2 separate regions of the Homo sapiens genome follow, and region 1 is linked to region 2. The links are contacts of gene promoters, found by promoter capture Hi-C in human tissues and cell types (Jung and others, 2019). All regions are on one chromosome and are shown on one strand. The core of a region is centred on a gene start or on the middle of the fragment in contact, and the rest is flanking DNA. Distances in the headings are between cores, read along the strand shown.

Region 1 (5,666 bases), core at 2,448-4,947, 710 kb before region 2:
TGTTGTTCCTGTGTCCAATCAGGGATCATTCATTGCATTTAGTTGCCATGCTTCTTCAATTTCCTTTGAACTAAAATCTTCCTTCTTTCAGACAAAACAATGCTTTCCTTAGACTCTCAACTTCTACATCCCACCACTGTGCTAGCTTTTCTCTCCTTCCCTAGATAGCCACGTTTTGTAAAGAAGAGACTCAGCAGTCTTCATATCCTCACCTCCCTCTTCAACAGGCTGCAGTGTGGCATCTGCACCCCCTAACCCCTTCATGATCCTCACTCACCAGACTTTCCTGCTACCTCTCTGGTCACTTCTTGGGCTACTTTGTAGGCTCCTCTTCCTGTGCTCGTCCTATAAATCTTACAGTTCTTTAGGACCCTGTCCTAGTCCTGTTGCTCTTTCCACTGTTTATGCTTTCCCTGGGTGATTTCTTTTCTTTCTTTATTTTATTTATTTATTTTTTTGAGACAGAGTCTTGCTCTGCCACCCAGGCTGGAGTGCAGTGGTGTGATCTCGGCTCACTGCAACCTCCACCTTCTGGGTTCAAGCGATTCTCCTGCATCAGCCTCCTGAGTAACTAGGACTACAGGTGAGCACCACCCCACCCAGCTAATTTTGTATTTTTCATAGAGATGGGGTTTCACCATGTTGGCTAGGCTGGTCTCGAACTCCTGACCTCAGGTAATCCACCTGCCTCAGCCTCCCAAAGTGCTGGGATTTCCAGTGTGAGTCACCATGCCCAGCTCCCTGGATGATTTCATTCTTTTCGGGGGAAGAAGCGGGAGTGGAGTTTCATTTACCACCTACATGCTGGAATCCCTATTTGTAGCCCAGGTCTTTCCCTCCAACTTCAGTTTCAAATCTCCAATGGCCTCCTCAACATCTGAATCCACTTAGAAATCTCACAGGCACCTTGAAGCAATATGTCCAAAAAGAGAACTGATTATCCTCCTACCACTTCTACTGTGCTTTCTGTCAAAAAAAAGAAAAAAATACATATATATGGCATCCCTCATTCATTACCTGAGCCAGATACATAGAAGTCATCTTTGACACATCCTTTTGACATCATCCATGACACATCTAATCAATCACCATACTCCACTGATTCTATCTTCTTAGTATCTCTGGAATCCATCTACTTCTTTCTGTTCTCACCACCACATTCAGGCTGCCATCATCTCTCCCAGGAATATTTCAGCAACCTCATAATCCTTTCCCCAAGCTTCCAGCTGTGCTCCATTTTAATCTCTCCTCCACCCTGGACTCTGAGTGATTTTCTGAAAATGCAAATCTGACCATTTTTTAAATTGTTCAGCTAGTTTCTCACAGCTCTCAGGATACAGTCTAAATGACTGAACTTGGCCTATAAGCTGGAGTGAAAGTCAAGGTATTTTATATCTGGTAAGGTACAGGCCCTGATGCCAGTTTAGAAAGCATGTCAGCTGATTTATCTGACCAGTTTATGCCGGCTAAATAATGGCTTGCCTATAGAGCCCCATACTCTTCTGCAGTCTCATCTAGGGCCACTCTTCCTCTAAAGTCCCACTGATCTTGTTTTGGTTCTCAGAATCAATCACCAAAAATGCAGTTACCTTTGCCTGGAATACTCTTTTCCAGTGGCTGCACCATCATCCCACCTTATCTTTTCATTTATTTATTTATTTATTTTTTTTGTAACTCCATCCTGTTACTGCCTTAGTCCTCTGAAAACCTCCAGCTAGTTTTCATACGAATGCGTTTGAAGTCTTCTCCATTTTGCACTTGTGTAGAATTTTTTTAAAAATTCAAGAACAAAACTTTTTATTAACTGAAAGCCTATTATGTATTAAGTATCATGCTGAGTTTTGTGGATATAGGGGCTAGGACAAAGTATCAACAGAGTAAAAGTGTAAGCTCCACGAGGAAATAACTGGGTCTGTCTTGTTCATTAATGAATCCCCATTCCTTTTTCTTTTTGTTTAATTAATTACTTTTATTTTTATTTCAATAGTTTTTGGGGTACAAGTGGTTTTTGGTTATATAGATGAATTATAGTGGTGAAGTCTGATATTTTAGCCACCCAAGTAGTGATGAATCCCTATTTCTTGAGATGATGTCTGCACACGGTTATATGCTTACCATTTGTTGGATGACTGAGTGAATAAGATAGTTTAAAATGGAGATTTTTTCCTATAAGTCAAAAAGTATTTTCCTAGTTCATTTATTTTATAAATTCAGATATTTTGTACAAGGCTGTCACAATCTAACTCACTTTTTTTTTTTTTTTTTTTTAGACAGAGTCTCGTTCTGTTGCCCAGCCTGGAGTGCAGTAGCGTGATCTCGGCTCACTGCAACTTCCGCCTCCCGGGTTCAAGCAATTCTCATGCCTCAGCCTGCCGAGTAGCTTGAATTACAGGCGCGTGCCACCAGGCCCGACTAATTTTTGTATTTTTAGTAGAGACGGGGGTTTCTCCATGTTGGCCAGGCTCGTCTCGAACTCCTGACCTCAGGTGATCCACCCGCCTTAGCCTCCCACAGTGCTGGGATTACAAGCGTCAGTCACCGCGCCTGGCCCTAAATCACTTTTGTTGTTGTTGTTGTTGTTATACTGTTCTTTTTCATTGCTAAGTAATATTCCACTGTGCTACATATGGAATATGCTACAATTTGTTCATACAACCACCTGCTGAGGGGCATTTGGGTGTGTGTCAGTTTTTTAGGCTGTATAACCAATTATCACAAACATAGCAGCTTAAAACAACCTAAATCACTTTTAACCAAACCCTAGAGTTTTCTCCTCCTAAGGTAGACCCAATTTCCAAAATAAACCCATATTGTACCTTTTCAGGCCAAAGAAAATATTTATATGCTTTATTTGCTGGAGGCCATTATATTCCACCGTTGAAGGACTTTTGTTAAGTACCTGTTTGACCCTTAGTGCAGGGCTTACATCCCACAGTTAGCAATAGCAAGTTATGTGCTTTTTGAGCTCTAAACACTGAGAATTTCTTGAACCGAGTTCTATTCGGCCCTGACTTGCTGTGGGGGAGAAAAGATTCCTCGGGAGAAGTGTGGGTGGCGATGGCTTAGGAGGACCTTGAAATTCCGCATTTGTCTGTGAGCTGCTGCCAGGTGCCCATTGGCCCAGCTACTCTGGGTCGCAAACCTGCAGATGCCAGATACATGAAATTTGGGGACGTTCAGCTTCCTAAAACCACAGTTAGGCAGGTCCTAGGACCCGTGATTCTTGCCACAGTTTTTCTTAGTATTTGGGCTACAAGTGAGGCATTGGCCGCCATCTTGATATCAAATGCCAGGCAAGCCGCTACTGGCGTCGCTCGGTAACCACGGAGACACCCGTGCCCCTCCCGTTTCTCATCCTTAGAGGCTGTAAACTACAATTCCCATCAGCCGATTTCCTCTGCGTAATGGCAACTTATCTAAATCTGGCTTGTGGGCAACCGCAACGCTGCCGCAGTGAACTGTGGGAGTTGCGGTTCACGGCGTAGCCTCAGTTTTTTTCCTGGGGGAAGTTCCAGAACTACAAATCCCGTGAGCCAGTGGGCTTTCGCCTGCGCACGGAGAAGCCGATTCTCCTTGGCCCCTCAGCCTGCGCCTGAGAGGTAAGAGAGGGCGGGGGGAAGGAAGAGGAGGCGGGATCCGGGCGCTGCGTTGGCTGCGGCCTGGCACCAAAGGGGCGGCCCCGGCGGAGAGCGGACCCAGTGGCCTCGGCGATTATGGACCCGGCCGAGGCGGTGCTGCAAGAGAAGGCACTCAAGTTTATGGTGAGGAGACGGTGGAGGCCGGGGAACGGTGGAGGCGCTGGCGTTGGCGGCGTCGCTGGCCTGGGCCGCCCGCCCACTGCGGGACCGGGCAGCGGGACCCTGGGCCGAGGCTGGCGGCGGAGCGGCTGGAGGGATGGGATGGGAGCTCCAGAAAGGAGGCTGGGGGTTGCGGAGCGGACCCAGGGGTGGGGGCAGCGGCTCCGCCATCTTGTGGATGAGAGGCCAAGTGACAGCGGGAGCTTAATCGAGGAGGGGGCTCCAGGCGGCGCGCGGGGCCCTGGAGGGAAAGGGGCGTGGGGACTGTTACTGAAAAGCGGAGGAAGCTCTCTGGAGAAACGCCGTGAGGCCGCTGGCGGGGCCTTCCTGGTGTCAGGGTTACCGGTAAGGCCCGGGAGAGGAGGTGCATTCACGACTGGGGAAGGGAGCGCGGGATAGAGTGAAGACAGATACGGTGGGTAGAGGGGAACGGGCAGGGCTGGATGCAGATGGATTTAAGGGTGGAGGAGGGAACGCTAGGGCTGGTGAGAGGCTTATAGTTTTGTAGAATGAGGAGGGAGGATAGCCTTTGCCTTGAGGGTGGAATCCCAGCTTGGCCAAACTACTGTTGACAAACTCTGGAAGGGAAGAGGCCTCACTAAAGAAGATAAGGACTGGGAATGAGGACCTAGGGCTATAATGACAGTCCCTGGGAGGGGAAAAGGGTGTTGACTGTAAGCTAGAATTACAAATGTCAGGGAGGGGTACATAACGCTACTTTGAAAGGAGAAGCTAAATACTGTAATAAGGACAAGGTGATGAAAAGTAAGAGCAGATTGTCAGGGAAACATGGGTACAGGAGATTGGGGCAAAATGAGTATCTAATAGGGTAAGCAAAACAAAATTTAAAGGTAAATTGTGGGACGGTAAAATGTGGAGGCCAGGTGCTTTGTATCATTTTCTGGGAAAGGAAAGGCCGTGGAGATGAGAGTTGCAAAGACCCATAAGAAGTGATGAGATCAGTTGAGAAATTTAGGAGATAAAAAGGGTGGAGGTTGGTAGAGGGAAGTAAGTCAGGGATAAGTCAGGATTTGTGGTTACCCGTCAGTTTTAGGTTGAAGCACAGTGTGAGCAAAGATTGGATTTTGTGGGTGTGCTTAAACCCCTTGGAACATATTTCTTTAACTTTGTATCACGCTTTTCTTTTTGCTGTGCTTATCTTTGGCAAACTCGTATAGTCTGATATTTGATGCTTTTAATCTGATGCTTTTTGTATTTCCTAGGTGTAAAACCAGACTTTGTGGTTACAACTAAAGAATGATGGAATGCATAGATTTTAAGCTTAACAGGTGGCCTTAGGGACATTGATATTATTTGCAGTCCAGTCTTGCTTTTTCAGAAGTTATTGTGACTTGTCACTCCAAATCTTACTCCTTTGCTTAAAAAAATAGCTATTTTGTATCTTTGCCTAAAATACCGTAACAAATCCAGATAAACATGGATACTAACAAAATTGAATTTTAGACTTTAAACTGCCCCATTTATAAGAATACTTTTTTGGAATCTAGTCAAATTCACTAAAACTTTATCTTGCATTAGTGTTTTCGAAAACACCTAATTAAAATTCAGGGGTATCATTAACAAAATTTCATTGAGCCTGAAGAAGGTTCTTGGATTTCTGCCCAACATTAAAATTCTAAATATGAAGAAGAGACCTTGAACTTTTACTGGACTTTAGAAGTAAGTGAAAGTTACTACACTTAAGTTAGAAAACTGTTACTGCTTATTTTTGTTTTCCTACTTAGAGGGTTGACTCCTTTTTTTCTTCTTTTGAGATGGAGTCTTGCTTTGTCGCCCAGGCTGGAGTGCAGTGGTGCAGCCTCCGCCTCCTGGGTTCAAGCGATTCTCCTGCCTCAGCCTCCCGAGTAG
Region 2 (5,830 bases), core at 1,045-3,544:
TGTGGAGACTTTGTGTCAGGCTCTACTCTAAATATGAGGATAGGATACAAAAACAAAAGAAATCTATGTCAACTAAGAGCAACTGAAGGAGGAGCAGTTTGGGGCAGGAAGATGATGTTTAGGACATGTTGAGAATGAAATGTCTGTGAGATGAGACATCTTAGGCAGAAATAAATATTTAGTAGACATTTGGATGCTCTTTTTTTGTGTGGAGCTTAGCAGAGACGTCTGAGCTGTAGGCAAAAGAAAAAAATAAAGGGGCTCAAAGTGGAATCAGGATATAGGAGGAAGAGCACATTTAAAGGATGATGGAGGGGCCGGGTACAGTGGCTCACACCTGTAATTCTAACATTTTGAGAGGCTAAGGCGGGCAGATCACTTGAGGCCTGGAGTTCGAGACCAGCCTGGCCAACCAACATAGCAAAACCCGACCTCTACTAAAAATATAAAAAGTAGCTGGGCATGGTGGTGCACTTCTGAAATCCCAGCTACTAGGGAGGGAGGCTTAGGCAGGAGAATCGCTTGAACCTGGGACATGGAGATAGCAGTGAGCCGAGATTGCGCCACTGCACTTCAACCTGGGCAACGGAGCAAGACTCTGTCTCAATAAATAAATAAATAGGCCAGGCACGGTGGCTCATGCCTGTAATCCCAGCACTTTGGGAGGCCAAGGCATGTGGATCACGAGGTCAAGAGATCAAGACCATCCCGGCCAGCAAGGTGAAACCCTGTCTCTACTGAAAATACAAAAATTAGGTGGGCGTGGTGGTGGGTGCCTCTAATCCCAGCTACTCGGGAGGCTGGGCAGGAGAATCGCTTGAACCCAGGAGGCAGAGGTTGCACTGAGCCAAGATGGTGCCACTTCACTCAAACGTGGGCGACAGAGTGAGACTCTATCTCAATCAATCAATCAATAAAGGATGGAGGAAGATGAACCAAAGGCAAATAAAACTCTGAAGGCAGTGCTATCTAAAAATAAAAATAAAAAAATAAAATAAAATAAAAGGAAAGGAAAACCAGCCAGGAAAGATGCAGTGCAAACCACAGGAGGGACTTTCAATGAGAAGGCTGTCAAATAAAAATGTCCTTGAAGACCTCAGCAAAAGCTACTTCAGGGAAGTAGTGGGTTGAGGATAGAAGGAAAGAAAGTGGAGGTGGCAAATGTAGCATCCTTGCAAGAAAATTGACTGAGAAAGGAAAAGGGGAGGGAGTGATGGAGGTGGAAGTGGGGAGATGAGGATGAAAGAACGAATTCCAAGACAGGAGAGATGACAGGGTATTTCTATGCTGAGGACGGAATGAGGGCAGTGAAACAGAAATGGATGCAAGTTCTCAAGGAAGGTAGGGGCCGGGGAGGAGAGGCAGGGCTCATAAAGAGGGATTGGCCTTGGAGAGAGGAGGAAAACTGCTCACCTGAAAAGGCAGTCAAGGGGTGGAAGGACCCCTGCATACAAATTTGTAGGTGTTACTGAAGAGTCGGTACACAGGCTCAGTGCTTCTAAATTATGTTTCTCTGTTTTGGTTTGGGTGATGAGTTGTTGATATGATAAAGTGATTTGTTGCACTGACTCTGGAGCCAGAGTGCCTGTGGTTGAAATCCCACCTCCACCACTTAATACCTGCTTGATCTTAGTTAAGTTACGTAATCTCTCTGTGCTTCATCCTCCTTATCTGTAAAAGGGACTAGGGGATAGAGAAGGCTGTCACATAGTGATATGGAAGTGGTTTTCTTTCCTTCCTTCCTTCTCTCTCTCTCTCTTTCTTTCTTTCTGTCTTTTTAAAATTTTTATAGAGACAAGGTCTGCCTATGTTGCTCAGGCTGGTCTCGAACGCCTGGCCTCAAGCAATCCTCCCACCTCAGCCTCCCAAAGTGCTAAGATTATAGGCGTGAGCCACCGCGCCCAGCCATGTTTACTATTTCCACTAGATTGTCATCTCCATGAGGTTGAGGTTTTCTATTTTGTTTAGGGCTGTCTACTCAGAGCCTGGCACAAAGCATGTGCTCAACGAAAATTTCCTGAATGAGTAAATTGGGGTGAAATTCTTGGGAGAGGGGCTCAGGGGGCTGGAATCCCTATTCCTGCGTGGGACTCCGGGCCACTGGGCGGCGTCCTGGGGTCTGGGGAAGGGCCTCCCCCTGCGCCGAGAGCGTGCCCGGGCGGGCGCGGTCCAGGCGCTGAGCCCCTGGGGCGCTCCCGTGGCTCCTCCCCCGGCGGGCGTGTAGTGTCGGCCCAGCGACTGCGGGAGGCATCCCGGAGCCGGCCGGGCGGGGCGGAGTCGACGCTCGGCCCGGCCTCTGCTCACCTCATCCACGGGAGACGGAAGTCTTGGCCCTGCTCCGCTCCCCCGAGAATCGGGCCTCGCCCTGCTGGGCGGCTGGACCTGGGCAAAGCCTGGGCGCGCTCCCGCGCAGCGGCGCCATGAAGCGCTCGGGGACTCTGCGGCTGCTCTCGGACCTGAGCGCCTTCGGCGGCGCGGCGCGGCTCCGGGAGCTGGTGGCCGGGGACTCAGCGGTCCGAGTCCGTGGCAGTCCGGACGGCCGCCACTTGCTGCTCCTGCGACCCCCTGGGGCGGTAGCCCCACAGCTGCTAGTCGCGTCGCGAGGGCCCGGCGCGGAGCTAGAGCGGGCCTGGCCGGCCGGCCAGCCCTCCCCGCTGGACGCCTTCTTCCTGCCGTGGCCAGCGCGGCCGGCGCTGGTGCTGGTGTGGGAGAGTGGCCTGGCCGAGGTGTGGGGCGCGGGCGTGGGGCCTGGCTGGCGGCCGCTGCAGAGCACCGAGCTGTGTCCGGGCGGGGGAGCCCGCGTTGTGGCAGTGGCGGCGCTCCGAGGCCGCCTGGTGTGGTGCGAGGAGCGGCAGGCCCGGGCCGAGGGCCCGTCAGGGTCGCCAGCAGCCGCTTTCAGCCACTGTGTGTGCGTCCGGACTCTGGAGCCCAGCGGGGAAGCTAGCACCAGCCTGGGCCGCACACACGTCCTGCTGCACCACTGCCCTGCCTTCGGGCTGCTGGCCTCCTGCAGACAACTCTTCCTGGTGCCCACTGCCACCACCTGGCCTGGCGTGGCCCACGTTCTACTCATCTGGAGCCCAGGCAAGGGCAAAGTGATGGTGGCTGCCCCACGGCTTGGTCTCTCCTACAGTAAGAGTCTGAATCCTGGACGAGGGGACACATGGGACTTCCGGACCCTGCTCCGAGGCCTTCCTGGGTTGCTGTCCCCCAGGGAGCCACTGGCTGTACACACCTGGGCCCCAACTCCCCAGGGCCTGCTGTTGCTTGACTTCGGGGGCACTGTGAGCCTATTGCAGTCCCACGGTGGTACGCGGGCTGTGGGCACCCTGCAGGAGGCACCTGTAGGCCCGTGGGGGTCTGCAGCCCTAGGCACATTTCAGGGCACTCTGGCCTGTGTGCTGGGCTCCACATTGGAACTGCTGGACATGGGCAGTGGGCAGCTGCTGGAGAGGAAGGTCCTAAGTACAGACAGGGTACATCTGCTAGAACCGCCAGCCCCCGGCATGGAGGATGAGGAAGAGCTGGAGACCCGAGGGAATCTTCGTCTGCTTTCAGCCTTGGGTCTGTTTTGTGTGGGCTGGGAAGCCCCACAGGGTGTTGAGTTGCCTTCAGCCAAGGATCTGGTGTTTGAGGAGGCCTGCGGGTACTACCAGCGGCGGAGCCTGCGGGGTGCCCAGCTCACTCCAGAAGAACTGAGACACAGCAGCACATTCCGGGCACCTCAGGCTCTGGCCTCCATCCTCCAGGGCCACCTGCCCCCATCTGCACTGCTGACCATGTTGAGGACCGAGCTTCGGGATTACCGAGGCTTAGAACAGCTGAAGGCCCAGCTGGTGGCTGGGGATGATGAGGAGGCTGGTTGGACTGAGCTGGCGGAGCAGGAAGTGGCACGCCTGCTGAGGACTGAGTTGATAGGAGACCAGCTAGCCCAGCTCAACACCGTTTTCCAAGCCCTTCCTACAGCAGCCTGGGGTGCCACCCTCAGGGCCCTGCAGCTCCAGCTAGATGGGAATGGCAAGCTGAGGTCCCAAGCACCCCCTGATGTGTGGAAGAAAGTGTTAGGGGGAATAACCGCTGGAAAGGAACCCCCCAATGGAATACTGCCCCCCTTTGAACTCCTGTGCCAGTGTCTGTGCCAGCTGGAGCCTCGATGGCTGCCACCCTTTGTGGAGCTGGCACAGCAGCAGGGCGGGCCGGGCTGGGGGGCAGGGGGCCCAGGACTGCCCCTGTATCGCCGAGCTCTGGCAGTGCTAGGTGAGGAGGGGACCAGGCCTGAGGCTCTGGAGCTAGAGCTGCTCTTGAGCAGTGGGCGGCCTAAAGCTGTGCTCCAAGCTGTCGGGCAGCTGGTGCAAAAGGAACAATGGGATCGGGCTCTGGATGCTGGCCTGGCCCTCGGCCCCTCCAGTCCCCTGCTTCGAAGTGAAATCTTCAAACTGCTGCTGGCCGAGTTTGCCCAGCACCGCCGGCTTGATGCTCACCTCCCCCTCCTTTGCCGCCTGTGCCCACCAGAACTGGCTCCAGCTGAGCTCCTGCTTCTACTGAGGACATACCTCCCAGATGAGGTGGGGCCCCCAACCCCATTCCCTGAGCCTGGAGCAGAGCCCCCTCTCACTGTGGGCTTGCTCAAAGCCCTGCTGGAGCAGACTGGGGCTCAAGGATGGCTGTCGGGCCCAGTTCTAAGCCCATATGAGGACATCCTATGGGACCCCAGCACTCCACCCCCGACTCCACCTCGGGACCTATGACTACCCTTCAGGCATCAGAACACTCAGGGCCTGGAGGCTTGCTTGGGACTGGAGGCTTGCTTGGACAGTTCCTCTGTGTCACTGACACAGGAAATCATTTCTAGGACACAGTGATCAGGGAAGGGTGCCTGGGACTTGGAGGGTCCCATGTATGGACCTGTGTATGCAATACTGTTCTGTCATCTGGAGCTATTTTTAAGATGTGTGTGTTAAATATATACATAGTTTAATATATACACAGTTGTGTGTTTTTAAACAGGTACAGGTCTCAGAGGATGCAGGTTATAGAGGGAGTGGTTGGATCTGGATCTTTTGGCTAAAGTCCCCACTTCCAATCATGAAAATAGTTAACATTTATGAGCATTTAATAGAAGCCAGGCATTCTACTCATCTTTATATAATCCCTCAGCTAGCTTCTCATAACCCCAGTGGGGAAAGTACTGATGTTATTCCCATTTTACAGGAAATAGAAGTTTAGAAAAATTAAATGACTTGACCAAGTTCATTTGGCTAGAAAGTAGCACCTCAAAGATTGGAGCCACCTCACTGAACAGCCCAGTAGCTCCCACCTGCTTGGGCTTGGATGTACTCCCCATCCCTGGCTCCATGCCAGCTTCCCTGGCCTGCTAAGAGGAGGAGGACTACAGAGCTCCACCCTTCCTTTCCCCAGGACTCCTCTGCTCCGGAGTAGGAACTTTACTGGGCCCTGGGTCCTTGCCTGTCTCCACCAGGATTTCTGAAGCAGCTTCTAGTTTAGGGGAAGATTTGCCACAGACAGGAGAGCTGCCTGCAGAGCTCTCTGGCTCAGTAACAAAATTCACTGGGAGCAGAGCTATCTGGAGAGCCCCATATTCCTGCTGACTCTCCCAAGTCAAGAAATAAGAGCGTCTGCAACACAGATCTCTGCTTGTCTGGATGTATTCAACAGGCTCAACTCTGAAGAGGCCTTTGCCCCATGCTCACTTCTACCCAAGTAACCCCTCAGCCTAGCGTAGGATAGACCCCTGGTTCTAGCTTAGGTTAGGACCCTGGATGCAGCTACTCAGCATCATCCGCAGTCCCAGATACCCCTTGTCCAGGGT

What was found. The method cuts DNA at HindIII sites, captures the fragments that hold promoters and counts their contacts. A contact is called where the count stands out against the background at its distance.
Region 1: the fragment with the promoter of BTRC here is called in contact with the fragment with the promoter of HPS6 in region 2 in 1 of the 25 tissues and cell types used here (heart left ventricle).

The regions. Positions count from the first base shown.
Region 1 is chr10:101,350,468-101,356,133 of GRCh38, forward strand. It overlaps BTRC (beta-transducin repeat containing E3 ubiquitin protein ligase), which reads left to right and starts at 3,698. Exons shown (of 15, transcript NM_033637.4): 1 at 3,698-3,761. The coding sequence starts at 3,714. RefSeq lists an enhancer at 274-1,473 and a silencer at 3,742-3,921. The HindIII fragment of the contact is 8,909 bases long and covers 1-5,666 here.
Region 2 is chr10:102,063,055-102,068,884 of GRCh38, forward strand. It overlaps HPS6 (HPS6 biogenesis of lysosomal organelles complex 2 subunit 3), which reads left to right and starts at 2,295. Exons shown (of 1, transcript NM_024747.6): 1 at 2,295-4,982. The coding sequence starts at 2,421. The coding sequence ends at 4,748. RefSeq lists an enhancer at 1,787-1,836 and a silencer at 2,047-2,716. The HindIII fragment of the contact is 30,919 bases long and covers 1-5,830 here.